Regions from separate parts of the Homo sapiens genome. Here region 2 is linked to region 1. Evidence: promoter capture Hi-C in 16 types of primary human blood cells and fetal thymus (Javierre and others, 2016). All regions are on one chromosome and are shown on one strand. The core of a region is centred on a gene start or on the middle of the fragment in contact, and the rest is flanking DNA. Distances in the headings are between cores, read along the strand shown.

Evidence for each region. The method cuts DNA at HindIII sites, captures the fragments that hold promoters and counts their contacts. A CHiCAGO score of 5 or more calls a contact.
Region 2: a contact is called between a fragment that was not itself captured here and the fragment with the promoter of ANXA11 in region 1, in 2 of 17 cell types (non-activated CD4 T cells and total CD8 T cells). The highest score is 7.1, in non-activated CD4 T cells.

What each region holds. Positions count from the first base shown.
Region 1 is chr10:80,202,714-80,209,171 of GRCh38, forward strand. It overlaps ANXA11 (annexin A11), which reads right to left and starts at 2,824. Exons shown (of 16, transcript NM_145868.2): 1 at 2,630-2,824. LINC00857 (long intergenic non-protein coding RNA 857) reads left to right here and starts at 4,997. Exons shown (of 2, transcript NR_038464.1): 1 at 4,997-5,518. RefSeq lists enhancers at 513-602, 1,103-1,182, 3,822-4,463, 4,234-5,433, 4,464-5,105 and a silencer at 2,168-3,047. The HindIII fragment of the contact is 13,979 bases long and covers 1-5,586 here.
Region 2 is chr10:84,328,570-84,335,027 of GRCh38, forward strand. CCSER2 (coiled-coil serine rich protein 2) reads left to right here and starts at 20. Exons shown (of 10, transcript NM_001284240.2): 1 at 20-239. RefSeq lists a silencer at 1-513 and enhancers at 564-913, 1,961-2,040, 5,388-5,437. The HindIII fragment of the contact is 3,038 bases long and covers 1,294-4,331 here.

The DNA.
Region 1 (6,458 bases), core at 1,574-4,073:
GGAACTGCTTCAGGCTTACGGGGGAAAACAGTGGCTAAGAAGAGAGAGGAGGCCGGGCACGGTGACTCATGCCTGTAATCCCAGCACTTTGGGAGACTGAGGCAGGCAGATCACCTGAGGTCAGGAGTTCAAGACCAGCCTGGCCAACATGGTGAAGCCCCGTCTCTACTAAAAATACAAAAATTAGCCGGGCATGGTGGTGCATGCCTGTAATCCCAGCTACTCGGGAGGCCAAGGGAGGAGAATCATTTAAACCCAGGGAGCGGAGGTTGCAGTGAGCCAAGATTGCATCACTGCACTCCAGCCTGGGTGACAGGGCGAAATCTGTCTCAAAAAAAAAAAAAAAAAAAAAGACAGCAGAAGAAGAGGGGTGAATCCAGGAGGAAGGAGGGGGTGCACCAGAAAGGTCCCAGGACCTCTGATGTTCCAGCATTCAGCATGCATTTTGGTTCCACATTCAGCTCCTGCCCACACCAGTTTCTTTTCTCTATTCTACAATTTCCAAGAAGAACCCACACTAACCTATTCTGTCTCAACTCCCACTCCTGTCATCCCAAGCCACACATCACCTCCCCAATCACGTGAACTAGGCATCACTAATCGATCCTGGCCTTCTAGACACATCCACCCAGGGTGGGCCCTTTCTATAGTATCATGCATAAAGGCGTCAGGTGAGGCTTCCACTCCCACCTCTTAGTCCCAATTCATCTCCATCTCACCCTCCCCACGTTTCTCTATCCAAACCCAGCCTTCAAGGTCCTATATTTTAACCACAGGGAAACCACTTCCCTGTGCTGTCTCTGTTGTTCAACTAACGACAACTAATTTTCTGAGCACCTACATTAGGCAAGGCCCATCCTGAGTGCTGCCACCAAGAGGTAAGTCAGAAACAGCCCCCACCCTCCAGAGTCAGAGGACAGGGCAGCGATAAGCCACACCGCCACACAAATACTATGCAAGGCGAGAGATGAGAACCGAGTCAGTGCCAGAAGGGCTGAGTGAGCTCAGAGCATATCCCGTCCCTCCTGCTGGGAGCAGGCACCCGGATGGCTCCCAGGAGGGTGGAGAATGCTAGGCCAGACAGGGGAGGGAGGGCATTCCAGTAAGACAGAGAGCATGAGCTTAGCATGAGCTAAGCCAGAAAGACGGTTCAGGAGAAGTGCATTTCAACTTTAGCTGAACCTTCCACTGCTACTATTTATTGACCCTTACACCTGATTATTTATGACCCAGGCCTGCCTCACACACTTTATGGCTAATGTGGGTGACACCCATCTGGGATACACAAGTGTGGTGCAGCAGTCACCACCTGTTCTGACTGGTCCGTACCTGAGCTCTGTATTGTTATTAAATAAATGAATGCACTGAATCTCACAAGCCTGTGAGGCAGGGATTACTATTACCCCCATTTTACAGATGAAAAACCAAAGCACAGACAATAGTCAAAGAAAAGATAGCAAGGTATGCAGGAGCCTGAAGTAGTGGGCACCCAATGCCAGGGCAACAAACTGCCCTGGCACCTCACCTGGCCTCTCTTATCAGGGAACACCTTGCAGCACAAAGAATGCCTTGAGGAAAGGGGCCCTGTTAATCCCCTGGAATCCCCAACAATTGACTGCCGCATAAAAGGAATGAGGAAAGCAATGAGAGCCAGTGAAGGGTGAGCATACCAGGCCCTGCCCTGCAAACCTAGTCCCTGTTGCGTGGGCAGGGCAGGGCAGGGCAGGGCAGGGGCTCGGCCTCACAGCTCCACTCCATGCCCAGCGCAGAGAACAGAGGGGAGAGCTACCACAAACGCCGAATCTCTACAGAGAGGTCAAGGATTGGAGGGCAGAGACAGAAATGCCCCGGGCTGACTGTTTCCAGCTTGGGCTAGCACTGGCTGGCTTAACTTTTCCCCTCCAAAGTCTCTAGGTAACAAACTTCGCGTGTCTCCTTTAAACCAACAGACCATTTTACCTAAGTCTTAAGGGCCTGGCCTGCACCCATGGGAGATACAAGTCCAGGAATCCCTTCCTGAAACTGGGGATCAAGGTTGGGGAAGGGGCGAAGGCACGCACAGCACCTGGGATGGCTCCCGCATTCCCTCAAACACTGGGGAGAGTTCCTTACAAATAAACTGCAATGGTAGCAGCTCCCAGGAATGTGCGTGCTCCCAGTTTCGGAGGAAAGTTCCTGAAGATAGCCTTCTCTGCTTAATCTCCCCAAGCCTCGCCTAGAAGGGCGCGCGCACCCTGGAGGGCTCCGCAGGGCTGCGGGGCCGGGCCTCCGGCACCCCTCCCGCCACCCGTTGCCTCCTGCGCCCAGGGTCACGGCCCCTGGCCCTACCCAGGCCCAGACTGAGACCCCGACCCCTGAGCCCGGGGGGACGGCGAGTGCACCCCGACCACACATGAGGGAGCAGCCCCAGACGCCGAGGCTGATCTAGGGGGCTGCCAGGCCGACACGGCCCGCCCGCGACCCGCCGACGCCCTCCCCTGCCCCCCACCCCCACGCCTGTAGTGCAACCAGGAAGCCGCAGGGCCGCGCTGGGCTGGGCGCCAGGCAGCCCCGGGCCTCACCCGCGGCGCCGCGGTGCACTGCCGCCGCCTGGTCCCAGGCCCCCAGCCGGCTCGGGACCCTCACTCACCTGGCCACGGGGACTCCGGACGCGAGGGGCGAAATGGGACGTGGGCGGGAGTGGCTCTCTCCGCGGGCGTCCCGGGCGCGGCGCCTGGGTTCTGCCTAGGGGCTGGGTCCCACTCCCGCTCGCGGGGCCCGCGGGGCACTCGGGGCACTGGGGAGCCGCGGGCGCAGCAGCCGTCAGCGCCGGGCGGAAAACTCCGCGGGCGCGGCTGCCCCAGGTGCCAGAGGCAGTGCAAGGGAGGGGCGGGGCCTGAGCGCGGCCCCGCCCCCAAGATGAGGACTGGGCACGGCGGGCCCGCGAGGAGCAGCAGCCTTCCGGCTGCGGAGCTGCTCCAGGAAGTCTCGGGCTCCGGAGGTCCCTCTGCCGCCCCTAACCCCTGCGGCGCCCAGTGCCGCGCAGAGCCGCATTCGCCCTCCTGCAGGGGTGGGCATTTCCTAAGTCCTCTCCAGCCCCGTGTGCGTCGGTTAGTGACTCTCTTTAAGGTCGAGAAAACTTTTTACACTGAAAAGGTCAAACGCATTTCCTTTATAGCAACACTCGGTGGTGGTGGAGGGGGGAAGGTCACGCACAGTATGTGAGGAAGGGAGCGGTCAGTGACTATCGTGGAGAAACCTGACAAACCACCCAGCCGTCAAGGTGACCTCGACAGGGGTAAATCATACTGATTGCATGCACCGCTTGTGGTCTTCCTCCCAAGAACACCTAACCCCACTGTAATCATGAGGAAAACATCACAAATCAATTGAGGCCCTTGCCATATACATGACCAGTACTCCTGAAAACTAGCAAGGTCATCAAAAACAAGGAAAGTCTAGGACACTGTCACAGCCAAGAGGAACCCACGGAGATATAAAAATGACTTAAGATGTTAATAATAGGAAAAGCCCGGGTTTATGAGAATTCCCTGTATTCACACTTTTTCTGTAAATCTAAAGATGTTCTAAAAATAAAGCATATTTTTAAAAGGTCACCCAGGTAATATATGCATATATGGTAGGTATACAATTTTTTTTTTTAATGAGTGGTGGCTGACGCCTGTAATCTCAGCACTTTGGAAGGCCAAGACAGGAGGATGGCTTGAAGACAGGGCTTCCAGACTAGCCTGGGCAACATAGTGAGACCCAGTCTCTAAAAAACTAAAAATAAAAAATTCAAAAAATGAGTAAAAATTGAGATTCACTCTTCCCTCCACTCCCCCAGCCCACTCTTAGGTGTGTCCTTCCAAATATCTCTCTTTAACACTGTGTGTGTGTGTTTACATAAACGTATTGTTTACAAAACGATATTGCAGTACTTTTCTGCAACATGTTTTTTTACTCACTATATCTTGGAGGGTCTTTCCATACAAGTGCTCCTGAACAGACCTGGTTCTTCCCATCCACTGCACACTGCGCGCCATCGTGCGCTTCACCATTCTTCATTACCTAGCTCCTTACTGAAGGACATTTAGGTTGTTGCCTATGTTTGGCTGTTACAAACAAGCTGCTGGTTCGATTTTCCTTTTTTTTTTTTTTTTTCTGAGACGGAGTCTCGATCTGTCGCCCAGGCTGGAGTGCAGTGGCGCGATCTCGGCTCACTGCAACTTCCGCCTCCCGGGTTCAAGCGATTCTCCTGCCTCGGCCTCCTGAGTTGCTGGATCTACAGATGCCCACCACCACGCCCGGCTAATTTTCATTTTTAGTAGAGACGGGGTTTCACTATGTTGGCCAAGCTGTTCTCGAACTCCTAGGCTCAAATGATCCGCCCGCCTCGGCCTCCCAAAGTGCTGGGATTACAGGCGTGAGCCACCGCGCCCGGCCCGATTTGCGTTTTAAAGTCGCTCTGAACAATAAAATCCGGAAGGACTGGAGGGGAGGCTCCGACCTTCTCCCTGTCTGGGCAGGTGTGCTGGTGCCGGGCAGGAACGGTGCCTTGGGACAGCCTGGCCCCGGCCTCACAACGGGCCCCGGGCGCTCAGTCATATTCCGTGGCCGCTCCAACACCCCCTACCCCCACCAGCAGGCGCGGCTCTCTTTCGGGGCTGGACTGCATTTTTTGGACATGAGTCGGCGAGTGAGGGTGAAACTCAGGCCAAAGTCTCCAGAGCCGCTCGGAGAAAACGCTGCCTGGAACAGAAGAGCAGAGGATCAGAGGCACCACCAGAGACTCTCAGAGTGGGTTATTACCCTGGTGGGGGCGCCTGCTGCGGCGTAGGAGATGGCGGGACTGGGGGCGCGGGTGTGAAGCCCCCAAGAAATCTGTGTGAATTTCCTGGGGAGGTAAGGTCTCCAGGCGCTCTCTCTGGGCCCGGGGATTGGTCCGGGAAGGTCTCCTGGCGCCTACCCAGCCCCCACTGCCTGGACGCCTGCGCCTGCTCTGCCGCCCCACAGCGACCGCGAAGGCCAGCTTCTTCGAAAGGCCCATTTTTCTCCGTGGCTGAGCGAATGCTCCTAGAATACCACGTTTATAATAAATCATGTAGGGTGGAATTCCTGCTGGATGTATACACCTTTCTGCATCAGAGCTCTTCAAACCCAGAATGGTGAATAGCTACCCCTGGGCTTACCCTTTTATAATTTTCAACAAACCTGCGTTTAGCCCCGGCTAGGTGCCAGCAAGTTGCTAGGGACTGAGGAGGCTCTGCAGAGGACCCGAGCTGAGGCCCTAATCCTCAAGGCCAATGGCAGGGGTCACCGCCCAGGCACCCCCAGAGAACGCGGTGTGAAGGAAAAGACACCAAACTCGGTGTTCAAATGTGTGGGATCTATTCTAGTTCTGATTCTGACACTTGCAAGTCATGCATCCTCCGAGCCTCGGCTTTCTCACCTATAAAATCTTCAACGTGACCTATAAAAATCCATAAAATCACCCCTGCTTCATTGTTTCCCAGGGCTCATAGAAACATCATACAAGGTAAGGGAAGGTGAGTGCACTGTAAAAAATGGTGACGTGCTATATAGCTCTGAGTAGTATGGTATATAAGCTTCCTTTTTAAAAATTTTAATTTTAGGGCCAGTGTTGGGATTACGGGTGTGAGTTACCGCACCCGGCCTCTTTTGTTGTTTTCTAATAAGTATATATGACTATCATTTCCCTCAAAAGTCTGCTTTAGCTGAATATCACAAGTTTTAATATGCTATGCTTTTGTTATCACTTAGTTATACATATTTGGATTTTGTTGTTGTTGTTGTTACAGAGTCTCGCTCTGTCGTCCAGGCTGGACTGCAGTGGCAAGATCTCAGCTCACTGCAACCTCCACTTCCCGGGTTCAAGAGATTTTCCTGCCTCAACCTCCTGAGTAGCTGGGATTACAGGTGCACGCCACCACACCCGGCTAATTTTTTAATTTTTAGTAGAGATGGGGTTTTACCATTTTGGCCAGGCTGGTCTCCAACTCCTGACCTCAAGTGATCCACCGGCCTCAGCCTCCCAAAGTGTCGGGATTACAGGCGTCAGCCACTGTGCCTGGCCAATATTTTGTTTTTTATGTTAGGATTGTATGCTTAATTCATGGATTATTTAGACGTATATTTTCCATTCTTTTTTTGTTTTCAAACTTCAGTTTTTTAAAAAATAATAATAATCATTTGGGGAGGGGCCCAGTGGCTCAGGCATGTAATCCCAGCACTCTGGGAGGCCAAGGTGGGAAGATCGCTTGAGATCAGGAGTTTAAGACCAGCCTGGGCAACACAGTGAGAGCCCCTCTACAAAAAAAAATTTAAATAAAAATAAATCAATCATTTTGTCATTGATCTCTAACTTTAATGCTTGGAGATGAGGAAATGTGTTCTTTTAGAATTTGTTAATGCCTCCTTTGTGGCCTCATATACAGACTTTTTTTGGCTGTCCCAAT
Region 2 (6,458 bases), core at 1,563-4,062, 4.1 Mb after region 1:
TGCGCCGGCCCTGGAGGGCGGAGTCCGGGCGGGCGCCGGCCGAGGGAGGGGGCGCGGCGGCTTTGGAGTCCGGCGCTCCCTCAGGCCGCGGACGCGATGCTGGTTGCTGCGGCTCGGGCGGCGGGGCTGGCGGGGATGTGACGGGCGGCCCTTCGTCTCACCTTCCGTCCTCGGGCCCGCAGGTCGCAGGGCGGCCTGCAGCTGGGCCGCGGCCGAGGAGGCAGCGCGACCTCCGCACGGTGAGATCCGGGCTCAGGGCCAGAGCCGGGGCCGGGGTCGCGGCGGGCGCCGGGGGCAGCCCAAGACCAGGCACGCAGTCCGGGGCGGGGCGGAGGCCCGAACTCCCGGGCTGAGGCGGTGTCGCCCTCCCGTACCCGGCCTCCAGGGTGAGCCTCTCTAGCCCCTCGCGAGCCGCCGGACGCGGGGCGGGCGCGGACCCGGGAGGCCGGAGGGCGCCCTCCCTGCGGCTGTGACAGCGCGGGGCCTCGGGCCGCGGGCGCCGCCGCCTTTCAGGAGAAATCAGGGCGAGGCTGAGGCACTCTGATTTCGGAGCCTGGTTGCGTGTGAGGGTGGATAGGGAAAGTACCGGGGCTCCCCGAATGAGTTCGATTTTTTTTTTCTTTCAATTACTGGGCTAAATGAAAGACACACCCTAAAACACATCCTGAGGTGAAACTTTGGTGGGGCACACCGTTGCCGTAGGTTCAGATCTTCTCTCTTGTCTTTAGACATGTATTTTCATACATTTTTAAATAATGCACCTACTTTCTTGATAAAGTAAAAGGAGGAATGAAGGGACTCCTTTGTGGTGGTCCTTGGTGGCGAAGCTTGTTTCCATTTCAGTAATTGCATATTCATCTGTGTGGGCTCCCCGACCAATGAGGCTGGCTGCTCCCAGACAAGGCCTTAGCGGAGTGGAAATGACTGACGCAGGGACTCTGGTCTCAGATTAGAGTGTTGGTAGCTCACTCCTGTAAGAGAGAAATTGAGCTTTAAGCTTTTTAAAATAGCCATATGAAAAGCATTCCTTTTCTCCTGAGCATTAAAATATGACGGAACCTATTCATTTGGCCAGTTGTTTTTTTTAAAGCATCATCTTTTAGACTAGAGACTTTAGAGATGGCAGCTGCTCTTTAACCAAAAGGAACTTAAGATGCTCTCCTGCAAAAGATGGGTTCAAAACATGTCTTATCCGTCATCCATATGTGATAAAAATGTAAATATTCCTGAGTGTTTGCCTGAAATCAGTCTTCTTCCTCTTGGACTTTATTACTGTTTCTCTTAATTTATGAAAGCTTGTTACTGTTATTTTTTGTTTTCGTTTGTGTTCTAAACAACATTGGCTTCAAATAATCTTCAGGTTAAAAATGCACACTTTGTTGAACCCTTTAGCCATAATTCATACTGTCGTACTTCAGCATAAGCCATAGTTAAGAAAGCACTAGAAGCCATCCTGAAAGCAAGCCGAAAGTCTCTATTAAGAATTCTGTAAAAATTCTACCTTTCCACATTCAGACCTGCATTTTTTGTTGCTTTGACTCAACTCCTTTGACTATTTTGGAGGAAGGGACTTTGAATCCATATTTACAAGTCCTTCAGTGACTCTCCATAGTCTATATCGATAAAATTCAAAGTCCTTCATGATTAGCGGTATTTGTCTCCATTCTAGTGTCATCTTCTACCATTATGCCTGCCCTCTCTATATAAGACTGTTGCAGTTCTCTGAAGATGACATCTTCCTCTGTGGTTTTTCAGTGTTCTTTGTTGAGAATTCTCTACCTAGTAAACAACTTGCCCTTGAAGACCTTACGAAAGTAGCACTTCTGAGGCTTGTCTAGACATTTCATCCCTCTTGTCTTAACTGATTCGTACACTCTCCAGTTAGTATTTGTCAACTGGTAGTTAATGATTTGTTTATGTGTCTGTCTCCACCAGGTTTTGGGGTTTCTTTTGTGTTTTTTGAGACAGAGTCTTGCACTGTGGCCTGGGCTGGAGTGCAATGGCCTCATCTCGGCTCACTGCAACTTCTGCTTCCTGGGTTCATGCGATTCTCTTGCCTCAGCCTCCTGAGTAGCTGGAATTATAGGCACACACCACCACACCTGGCTAATTTTTTTTTAGTAGAGACGGGTTTCAGTATGTTGGCCAGACTGGTCTCAAACTCCTGACCTCGTGATCCGCCCACCTCGGCCTCCCAAAGTGCTGGGATTGTAGGCTGGTTAGGAATGAAACCCCAGTTATGTTAAAAAAAATCCATTTTATGATACAGGAATAAAAAGGGCATGACCAATAAAGATTGCTGCTTCATTGGTCCTACAACTTTATTTTGAGGCGCAAAGTCACGCAGGTAGAAAGGGATGGCGGGGATTACAGTCCAGGTCTTTTGACCATCTGTGTATTTCACTTTTGCCCCCAGTCTCCTAATTCTAAATCTTAATTGTTTTACAATTTGAATGGGAGTTGTGAGCGACTTGGATGTGTTCTGAAAAAAGGGTCAATAGAATATTGAACTTGAAAGAATTAACAGATTATTTGGTTCAACTTTAAAAATTTTACGGTTAAACAACTCAGCCTAAAAAGACAACTTGTTTGAGATTGCTTAGGCTCACCTACATCTCATATCTCCTGACCTCATCATTGTGTGTTTTTCACTACTCCATGGTGCTTTGGGGTGAAATGAAGGAGCTGCCAGTTTTTCAGAGGGAGTGCAAATCTGCTTGCACTTTCTCCCTCTTTGAATACATGGCTGCCACTCCTAGGGACTTAGAACCCTTGTGGCTGAGAAACATGATAATTCATTTGGGGATATGGGAGAAACCTAACCTTCACTATTCCTCTCAGCCAGATAGTTTTAACTTCAGTGCTTGGGGCGCTCTCTCCAGATGCCCCATAACAAGTGGCTTCTGATCACCATATGGACATCTCACATACAGTTAAGTTTTGATGGTACAATGAGATTTTAATATAAGAAGGTTGCAGCTGGCTAATAGCATGGCTAAAATTACTTGTGTGGCTTGTCTGTGAGAGGAGCCTATCTTACTCCTATGTGATAGGATTTTGGGGGAAAAAATTGATGATTGTGGCTGTCTCTAAAAAGTTGAAATGTGTACTTAGTGGTGTGGGCCTGACCAATTCCAAAAGGCTTTTTATCTTACAAACAATGGTCAAAGAAATTTTAAAAATCAAAACAAACTTAATTTTTCTTCTTATTTCTTGTCATATCAGTGGTTTTATATGATAAAGCATACACATAATGCTTAATATTTGCTTTCATATTTGATGTTTTATTTTTGCTATAGTTTTTATACCTTTAGATGATTATACAGTGTTACAATGTCATTTCTTAATAATTGGACATCTAGATTGTTTACTATTTTGCAGATAATGCCGTTAGTATATAGCTGTTTATCATTTTGCTTCTTCCCTTTGGGCTAAAGGCCCAGGAGCAGTATTACAAAGTCAGAGGGTATGAAGGTTTTGTTAATTCTGAAAAATATTACTAGATTTACTTCTAAAAGATATTGATTTACAGACTCCAGTAGAGTTTGGTTGACCATTTCTATCATACTTTATAGGTTTTTGCTTTTAAAAGTTTGTTTTTTAAAAATGAGGATAAGGTTCCTTGCAGTTTAACATCATAGTCCATAATAGACAAGCAAATGCAGTATTCTTCTAGTTTTATTTTCTCCTTTATTTGTCCATCGTCCATAAATTTATTGGAATCTTCTCACCAATTTTCATTAGCACTAACATCATAAATATATTAATCTCTTGAAAAACATTTCTGATCTATTTTTTCTTATTGTAGGCTTTATAGATTTTATATTATTAAATTTATTTTTTTATATATATATATATATATATATATTTTTTTTTTTTTTTTTTTTTGAGACAGAGTCTTGCTCTGTTGCCAGGCTGGAGTGCAGCGGTGCCATCTCGGCTCACTGCAACCTCTGCCTCCTGGGTTCAAGCGATTCTCTTGCCTCAGCCTCCCCAGTAGCTGGGACTACAGGCACGCGCCACCACGCCTGCCTAATTTTTGTATTTTTAATAGAGATGGGGTAATCCCTATATTATATATTTTTTTAAAAAATCAGTGTGGCTGGGTGTGGTGGATCACACCTGTAATCTCAGCACTTTGGGAGGGTGAGGCGGGAGAATCGCTTGAGCCTAGGAGTTCAAGACCAGCCTGGGCTGTTAACATAGTGAGACCCCCATCTCTATTTTAAAGAAAAAAGATAAAAGAAAAAAGTCAGTGATTTTTGTCCTTTGATTGTGTTTTTTGAGAATGAATGCCATGTACCTGTTTGATGCATACTTTTATTTTCTTAAGCTTCTAGAATTCATTTTGTTATGTATATATATTTGGAAAGTTAATATACAACTGAGATAAAATTTCATTTATGTGTATTTTATATTATAGAAAACTACATTATTATGTTTTCATTCTTTTTTCTGAACTTAAATAGGAAAACAAAATAACCTAACTTTAATACAAATGTGTACTTGTTTTTTAATAAATTATGGTAAGTTTTAGTTAAACTAACATTTTTATGACAGCAATATATTGGTTAATTGAAATTTTTGTCTGTTCAAGATTAACCAGAGGGTTGTCTTTAACTCTTATTGCTAATCATTCTAAAATATATGAAAGGAAACCTTAGTAATCTGCTCCCACTGGGGAGCAGGTTACTCCCATTCTAGATAGATGAGACATCCCAGGATAATAGTTAACATTGAGTGCTGGGTGTTTTGCTGGTTCTTGGCATGGAGTTTCTTACCTAATCTTCACAGCAACCCTAGGAGGTAGGTTCTTTTAGTATCCTCATTTTGTGGATATGAAAATATAGAGACTGTGACCTGCCAAGGATAACATAGGTAGTAAGCATTGGAACTGGAACTCAGTCAGCCTGCTTTTAAAAGATGCTATTTCAAAAGTATTATCTTATTATCCATGCCAAGGATTTGGACTTCATTTCTTAGACATTGGAAAGATTAGGTGTTGCAAAGCAAGGGGATGATATGGTATGTTATCTCTTTTAGGGAGATTGCTCATGTGACAATGTGGCTATATATTGAATTATGTTTATAATAGGAAGTGGTTGAAATATTCATGTGAGAAATGAAGGCTAAACCTTGAGGTGGAAGTGGAGATCGGGATATTTTGGAAATATATAGGAATTAGTAACTGATACACAACAGAGTGGGAAGGCAGTGTATTGATTTGGAAGACATTGAGTGGGGTAATGACAGATGAATATGTGCTCACAGCACTTTGTTATATTTCTTTCACAGCGTTGACTGTGATGTATTGTACCTATTCTAGTAACATATCTGTCTCCCCCACTGGATTGTGTGCTTGTCAAAGATAGGGACTGAGTAGAGGAATGAGTGAATATAGGATGAAATAATACAGAAAGGTCAAGAGACTGAACTGGGAAACACCAAATTACCAAAATGAAAGAGTGGGTGGAGGAAGAGTAGCTCTAGAATGTGACAGCTGTCAGGGAGGATGGGGGAAGAGCCATCAGGGAGGAGGCAGAGGGGTAGGGAAGTATTAGCACAGACATGAGCATGTAGAATGCTGCCACCTCAGGCTACAAACAGTTGTGGTTGGTGTGCCCTGCTGTCATAAGCTGATTGTGGTTGTATAGGGTGAACTTGTCTTTCCGTTGTTATTGACTACTTAAGTTTTCTCTGAGTATCTGATGGCTTTCTGCCTCTTTGGCTTCTGACTTCTGCTTGCTACAGGTGCTGATGCTGGGGTGTGATTCAGCCTATTGAGATCAACCAATGAGAACAGTCCTTTCTTTTTAAGTGAATTGACCAATCATAGTATGTGAGATGTAATTTCTGAGTTTTTAGCTCTTCTCTGATGAGTTGATTGGTTTGGAATGTCCTAGAGTTACTTCTCTACCTTTAAAGACTTCTGGTTGATTATATTAAGGTTTGGAGCCATTGGGAAGCCAGAGGATTCTTAAAGGTTGGATCCATGAGCACTGAAGTTTTTTACCTGTTTATTTTTTCAAGTTGATCAGTAGCTTAGTTTCAGTATAGTTGGATCATCTTTGAAGACTGTTGGTCTTAAAAATGCCACAGATTATTCCAAATAATTAAGAATCTCTGTTTTCTTTGTACTTTATAGCTACGTAAGACAGGGGCTTGTTTTAAATTTTCTTGGTCAGCTCCTAACTTACTTCATATGTCTGTTTTTCAAAGAGTTACTTGGTAAAGGAATTTGCTATTGATTTTTTTCTACAACCATTTGCTTCAGGCCATCCTTACCCTCTGTTCTCTGCCTTCTCCTGTTTTCATCTACCCTGTTTCTGTCCTTGATAAGGACAGTGGGAAAGGGAAAAGAGAAAAAGCATGAGGGATTACTCCTTCCTTCCCTTTGTTATGGTAGTTGTTACTGCTCTCCTCCCTGCCATCGCTGCTCCCAGCTGTTCACTTTGGCA